Linked DNA regions of Homo sapiens: region 1 is linked to region 2. The links are contacts of gene promoters, found by promoter capture Hi-C in human tissues and cell types (Jung and others, 2019). All regions are on one chromosome and are shown on one strand. Each heading gives the region's core, a stretch centred on a gene start or on the middle of the fragment in contact. The rest is flanking DNA. Distances are from core to core; before and after follow the strand shown. Region 1 overlaps GABRA2 (gamma-aminobutyric acid type A receptor subunit alpha2). Region 2 holds the start of GABRA4 (gamma-aminobutyric acid type A receptor subunit alpha4).

Region 1 (3,812 bases), core at 637-3,136, 670 kb before region 2:
ATATCCATAATTTGTCCTGGAAACAAGGAAATCACTCTCTATAAACTATTGCACAGTTTATCATATAAACTTGATTTTAAGGACACATTAACTTAATGAAGGCATCATATTCTTTACTGCCTGACTACATTAATTATAAATCAGTACTTATAGCCAATTCCTGAAGAATCTTATCCACTCACTAAAACACAACTAAATTGTAGGACTGTTCCTGGAGTGATTTCTCATTTACTTTGATTTTCTACATTTATTTACTTATTACATTATACTCTTGTGGCTAATAAAGGCTAGTCTCCCTTGAGTAAATTCCAATCAGTGTGTTTCTTCTATAATGAAGAACATGTAGTCTATGAAGCAGGTATGCAACAATGTAAAAAATATCACTCTTGGAATACACAAGAATAATGAAGCTCGAATACTTTCAGTTGGTACTCAAACGGGGCTAGATAACAATTTAGCACAGTATTTGCATTGCAAAAATTGCAAAAACAATGAGAATCTTAAGAACAGATCAGCAAAGGGCCAGTAAACCCAATTAGTACAAGCCTTATTATACAAAGAAGTTCACCAAACTACAGTTGCAGAACAACATAGCTACTGCACATTCAAAACATTGTGGAGGTAAGATGTTTGGGCATTCTTTTTGGAACTAGGGGCCAGGCAAATTTCACTAACAAATTAGAAAATGTTACTAAAGATTCATATTTTAACAGAAGATAATTAAAATATATATAATAGAAGTATTCAATATGATTCATAGTTATAGTAGACAGCAATTTACTTTGATATAATATGTGTCATTTAAAATTCATAACATCCTCATTGCATATGCAAAATTATACCAATTTCACAAGTGGAAAATACTTCAAAAGCAATATTTACTTAAAAAAAAGACAGAGAGGCAAGATTTGGTCTCAAATTCTGTGTTTCTAAATACCATGGTCTTTTCATTATACCATACATAAAACAACCCTTGAAGGCAGAATATCAGAATAAAATTTCCTTCTTTCATAGATCAATAAATGGACATTACTCATGGCTTATGAGAAGTTACAGGAAGAACTAAGTTGTAGGGCTGAGACTGGAGTTTTGGAATTTCTGAAAGGGGTATTTTCTTCAAAACCTGATGTTGGAAAAACTGAATAGCCATATGCACTAGAATTAAATTGGACATCTATCTTATCCCATACACAAAAATCAACTCAAGGCAGACTAAAGACCTAAAGGTAAGACCTGAAACTATAAAACTCCTAGAAGAGAAGATAGGCTCTTTGACATTGATCTTGGCAATGAGTGTTTTGAACATCACTCCAAAAGCTCAGGCAACAAATGTAAAAATAAACAAGTCGACATACATCAAACTAGAAAGCTTCTGTACAGCAAAGGAAACAATCAACAAAATATAAAGGTAGCCTTATGGATTGGGAGAAAATACTTGCAGATTATATATTTGATAAGAGATTAATATCCAAAATACATAAGGAATTCACACAACTCAATAGGTAAAGAATCTGAATCGACAGTTCTCCAATAAAAACACAAAATGGTCAATAAGTATATAAAGAGGTGCTCAACATCACTAATCATCAAAGAATTACAAATTAAAATCAATATCACCTCACACCTGTTAGGATGGTTATTATCAAAAAGACAAGAGATAACGAGTGTTGGCCAGGGTGTAGATAAAAGGGAATCCATGTACACTGTTGGTGGGGATGTAAATTGGTGTATCCATTAGGGAAAACAATATTGATATTCCTCAAAATGTTAAAAGCAGAATCTTTCTGTTAGGTATATACCCAAGAGAAATGAAATCATGACCTTTAAAGATATTGGCATTCACATGCTCATTGTAGCATTATTCACAATACCCAATATACAAAAACAATCTAAGTGTCCGTCAATGCATGAATAAATTATTTAAACATAATATATATGTACAATGAAATTCTATTCAGCCTTAGAAAAGGAGATCCCATCATTTGCAACAATATAGATAAACATGGAGGGCATTATACTAAGTAAGATAAGTCAGACGCAGAAGGAAAATACTGCATGATCTCACTTACATGTGGAAAAAAGGAAGAGAGAAAGGTACGTTGGTTGTTTGAATACATAGAATAAAATGTTGGCAGTTACTGCGGTGGGATGTGAAGAGGGAAAAAATGGGGAGGTGTCAATCAAAGGGTATAAAGCTTAGATACATAGGATGAATGTCTACAGATCTAAGGTAAAACATAACGACTATAATTATTGTATACTGGAAATGTAAGTGCTCTTACTGGAAAAAAAGTAAACTATGCAAGATGATGGATATGTTAATTTTACTTGACTGTAGTAGCCACTTACTATTATAAGTGCACTAAAATATAATGTACATCTTAAATGTGCATAATAAAAAATCTTTTCACAATTAAAACTAACTCAAACACAAAATCAAATAATCATAATGATACATATTAAGTAATAAGAAATAGATGTTAAAACACAAGTTCTCAAGTCGGGTAGATCAGGGTACCTGGCTTTGAGCAGGTTGGCTAACCTTTCTTTATATCAGTTGACTTATCTGTAAAATGGTAAGAAAAATAGAAGTTACTTCCTAGGACTCTTGTAAGGATGAAGTGAGATAATATTTGCAAAGTTCTCAGAAAATGGTTGGACACCAAGGAAGATAGTCTGGCATAAATCATCTTCAAAAGATCCTTCTCCCTCTCCCCATACTCAACAAAAGGGTGGCCAGACAAGGTAGAGACAACCAGCAATTAAAGGTCATAAAGTTCCAGAGGCAGAGGCCACACAGGATACCACAAAGAATGCCATTGGAGAATAAGCCACCTGTGTTTTTGGTGACTGCAATAAGGAGGTCACTGAGAAGACATCACAAGTATGCCCCATGGGAGATCCAGTATTCATCCACCAACCATACAAACGGCATATATTGCTAACAGAGAACTACCAATAGAACCAGTTCAGTAAAAATGTATGTTCCCGTTTTACTACTCTCCCTTACCATTGCATCAACTTTGAAAAACACAGAAAAAGAAGAGGAAGAGTAGATCTTGGCCTGTCTCCACAGTATATCCCTTACCTGTGAAAAAGGCATGGAAAAGGACAGAACATCTAGATGGCCTAAGAGACTGATGCTGAAATTAGTCTGGACTGGACTCTTTAAGCTATGGTATGCACTGAAGCATTGCCGTAATGTGAGAAAGGGAGTTTGAAATAATAAAATCTTGCTGATTTCAGTCACCTGAATCTCTAAAGCCCTGGGGGTGAAGTAAAAACACTCTCACAGCCTCCAAGGCCCTGCACGATCTCTTCCTCTCTACTTCTCTAGCCACCCTACAATAATCCCCCACCACATCCACACACCCACGCCCCAACACATGCACCCCTCTATGCTGCCACAATAATGACATAAGTATGTGTCAGGCCTCTGATTTATCATGCTGCATTTTACTATGCAAACTCACTAACCTCTGTTGATCAGTCTTCTCTATCCCCTCCCTATATCTGGACAACTTTTAGTCCACACTGAGAACAAGAATCGTGACCACCTTCTTCAATGCTGTGTCACCGGCATCTAAAAAGCTACTTGGAACATAGGAAATAAACAATACTTTGCCCATGAATAAATGAATAAGGGGAGTCATTGTAAATTTAATGTAGTATGAAGGATACTGAGCCATAATGTTTCTGATGAGACATAAGAAGAAAGGCATCATTAGCAGAGGCAGATGGCAGAAAAGCTCTCAGATGTCTTATGGCAGCAATCTGCAAACAATACCCTAATCCTTAAATTCGCAGGTGTC
Region 2 (3,592 bases), core at 669-3,168:
TACACAGCCTGCTCTGGGTTTACATCCTTCTCCTCCTACTTACTAACTTGGAACTTGGACTCAATTTCCTTATCTGTAAAGTGGGGATGGTAATGGCTTTCAAAGCTTTGTTGTGAGGGTTAAACAGAGTGGTGATGCCTACAAAATGCCTGGTATATGTGAACATTTAATTAAATAAATACAATATTACTGGCTGTTATTATTGTTACCACTTGAATGTAAGCTCCTTTAAGGCAGAATCTCTATCCTGTTCAACTCAGTTGCTGAAGGGTAATTAGTGCAGTGTACTGTAAAAAACAGGGACTTTGAGATCAAAGGACCTGGGCCAAACCTATGAATGGGACCCTAGCAAGTCATTTGTCCTCGTTGAACTGGACTGAGAAGCTGTTTGAGGTTAAGAATTGTATCTTAATATTTCTGTGGACCTAGTACCTAGCGCAAAGCTTGCCACATAGATTTCCATTATATATGCAAAGGAAATATGAATATGAAAAACAGCAACAGTGCTGTTAATGGATGTACCTCTATTAAGTCCTTTATACTTATTTTGTTGAAGAAAGCAAGCTGGAACATCTCTAACTTTAAAGTCTTAGGAGGAAAGCAAATGACACATCACCAAAAAAGAAAGGGAAAAAAGAAAAGCATCCTGCTGTAGAAGAGAAAAGGAAAGGACTGGGTTCTCTAGCAGAGCAGGCAGCTTCATGCCCCAGATTTATGTCCCAGGTAGAACATTGGCCAAGGTTTTGGCATAGGCATGGACACGTGGGAGGATGAGGGACTTCGGTTCAGCTGCCTCCAATGCAACCTGCTCTGAGCGAAGTGGCCAGGTTCAGGGAAACTATTCTCAGCGAAGAGCGTCCAGGCAGCTGAGCCCAGAGTTCCCATTTTTGACTCTTCCTCTCCAACCTCCCCCACCCAGCAGTCAGGTCCCGGGAGGTAATTAGTGTGGGGGAGAGGCAAAGCTTCTGAGGGGGCAGGGAGATGGGAAAGTACGGGTGGAGGCGGTCTTCTTGTCATAGGTCTCACCAAGAGAGGAGAGATAGAAAGAGAGAGAGATTTATTTTTGCACGTGAGGCATACCTAATGATATTCCCACAGACAGACAGACAGGAAGACCAAGAGAGGGACAGACAGGACACACTTGCGCGTTTGAAATCGTTCATACCCCCAAATCCAGGACGCAGCCTGTTGTCATAACCATCGAGCAAACTGTCCAGGATGCGGGTGAAATTTTCTGTGCACAATTTCTCCTCCTTTTGGTTCTGTCCTGGGGATTCGTTTAAACTGCAAGCGAAAAAAAAAAAACCGGGGGCGGAGGAGATTATTTTAAGAATCCATCAGAGAACAGGTGCAAACAGGTTTGTTTTCTAGGGAAAGAGTCGCTTGCCCCAAGCTAAAGGAGAGGAGGTTGGGGGTTGGGATGCAGAAGACAGAAATGGTCAGGAAAAGCGCGCCCCGCCGCAAGACCCCCAGTGCCCACACGCCTCTTGGATCCTGCGCCCTTGGTGCTCTCCGCATCTATGCGGTCACAGAAAAGCCTGGCTTCGGCCCCTGCTCTTACAGCTGAGATAAGAAGACCTAGTCCACCCAGGGAGGAGCGAGTGGCCAAAGGGGTCCCGGAGCTAGCCATTTCTCCACTTTCCGTTGCCCACCTCCTCGCACCCCAGAGAACTCACCAAACCGCCAGGCACAGGAAGCGCAGGAGGGCGAAACTGACCCCGGCGGACAGAGCGATCGCGGGTACCTTCTTGGCAGAAACCATCTTTGCAACATGCCATACTTCAAGCCTGTTCACGTTTCCAGGCTCTTCAGATGCCCTGAGCAGGGTGCGAGGAGAGGGCAGAGAGGCTCCCGCGGCGTGCGCACACTCGCGCTCACACTCGCCCGCGCTCAGCCAGCCCGAGCCGCGGTGGGCGTGTGTGTGCACGGGGCCAGGGGAGGCGGAACCTGCCTTCCTCGCCCCCTCCTTTCTCGCTCAGCGCTCAATGTGTATGTAGAGCTATGTATACCGCTCCACACCCTTTCGTGCCCGCGCGCTGAAGGTTCTGGGGTTCGTATCCGCGCGCTTGCGCTGCAAGACTCGGCAAGTTTGTTCCGACTGTAACTCCGGGGATGAGGAACGGGGTCTCTCGCCCCTCCTCCGGCTTCGCAGCCCCCGACCCCAAGTGGGCTCCCCGCCCACAGCAGTGTTCGTCCTCCTACCTCCTGGCCCCCTCCCTTCCGCTGGGATTTGGATCTAACCAATGAAGCTCCTCTGTCATCAGGTTGTGCGAGGACCTGTTTGTACCCAGAGTCAAGGTTGGAGGTGGAGAAAGGGCGGGTGACGGGGACTGCTGGGCGTCGGGTGGTAGCGGTGGTGAGGAGAGGGGATCAAGTCCGGGCTCAAACCACCTTTGAGACCCTCCCATTCAGGTGTTATGGGGGGCGGTAGGGAGAGCAATGAAAGCAGAAAGATTCTTCCTGGTAACAGGGGTTGCAGCTCACCCGGCGGACTCTCGCCAAACTATTGGGAAGTGGACTCGAGCCGCACTCTAGTCCCAGTATTTGCTAAGCTATTGCTTTAAAGACACCCCATTTCTTTACCCGCCTCCACCAGACACGCGCACACCCTCCGCTTTGCTGCTCCATCCTTTTCTGGAGAGGAGGGGAGAGGTGGAGACAAGCGACCTCTGGTCAAAATCACTTTCACTTCTTGCGACACTCTTCTTTTTCAGAATGGAGTTGACTTACTTCCAGAGGTTGACTGCTTTAGGTAGGGGGAAAGGACGGCTGGAGAGAGAGTGGGGGGGGAAAGAGAAAATGTGTGTGTGTGTGTGTGTGTGAGAGAGAGAGAGAGAGAGACAGAGAGAGACAGAGAGAGAGAGAGAGAGAGAGGCAGAAGGTGGGGTATGGAGAGAAAGGATACATAAATTAAAATGGAGGGGGACAAATATTAGTTCCCTTGTGACATGAAAGGGAACACTAAGCTCCATATCTTTACTGTTTTACTGAGCAAAGATAAGCATTCCCAATAGATCTTTGGAAACATTAATTATTGGCTCCAAGGGGGAAAAGCGTCTTTCAAATTAGTAATGATGCATGTGGAAATTTTCATATGATGGATCAATGAGCTAAGTAATTCCCATACCTTGGAACCAAACACCAATTAGGTTCTAGTCGGAACTCTGATGATTTGTTCAAATTGAGATGACTAGTGGACGGGTATGAAGAGGGAACGCATTGTATTAGACAGGGGTTTTGGTTTTTTTGTGTGTTTTAAACGTCTGGATTCAAGTTTTCTTTCTAAGGGAAAGCCCAAAGTGCTCATCGTGGGCAGTAGCTAGAGCTCCGTGCTCTGTATTCTGTACTGCTTTCTTCATGGAATTTGTTAACTTCATCCTAATCCCATCTCTATCATTCTTTTCTCATAGACTGTGGTCTCTCTGAGGGCCTGGGCTAGGTAATTTTTGCTCATCTGTGTTTATTTTATCTGCTGTTACAGTGCATGGCACATAGAATGTCAATAAATATTTATTGAATGAACAATTAAACAAAGCAATGAATTGCTTGTTCTCAGATCCATCTTATAAATGTGGATGACTATCAAGCTCTC

What was found. Contacts are between HindIII fragments. The study calls those that stand out against the background at their distance.
Region 1: a contact is called between a fragment that was not itself captured here and the fragment with the promoter of GABRA4 in region 2, in 1 of the 25 tissues and cell types used here (dorsolateral prefrontal cortex).

What each region holds. Positions count from the first base shown.
Region 1 is chr4:46,319,086-46,322,897 of GRCh38, forward strand. All of the region lies in intron 4 of GABRA2 (gamma-aminobutyric acid type A receptor subunit alpha2), which reads right to left. Among named protein-coding and RNA genes, the nearest start is that of GABRA2, 69 kb to the right of the region's middle. The HindIII fragment of the contact is 4,076 bases long and covers 1-3,812 here.
Region 2 is chr4:46,991,663-46,995,254 of GRCh38, forward strand. It overlaps GABRA4 (gamma-aminobutyric acid type A receptor subunit alpha4), which reads right to left and starts at 1,919. Exons shown (of 9, transcript NM_000809.4): 1 at 1,677-1,919; 2 at 1,166-1,284. The coding sequence starts at 1,762. It also overlaps a transcript of GABRB1 not described here. RefSeq lists a silencer at 1,850-2,144 and an enhancer at 2,306-2,375. The HindIII fragment of the contact is 6,154 bases long and covers 703-3,592 here.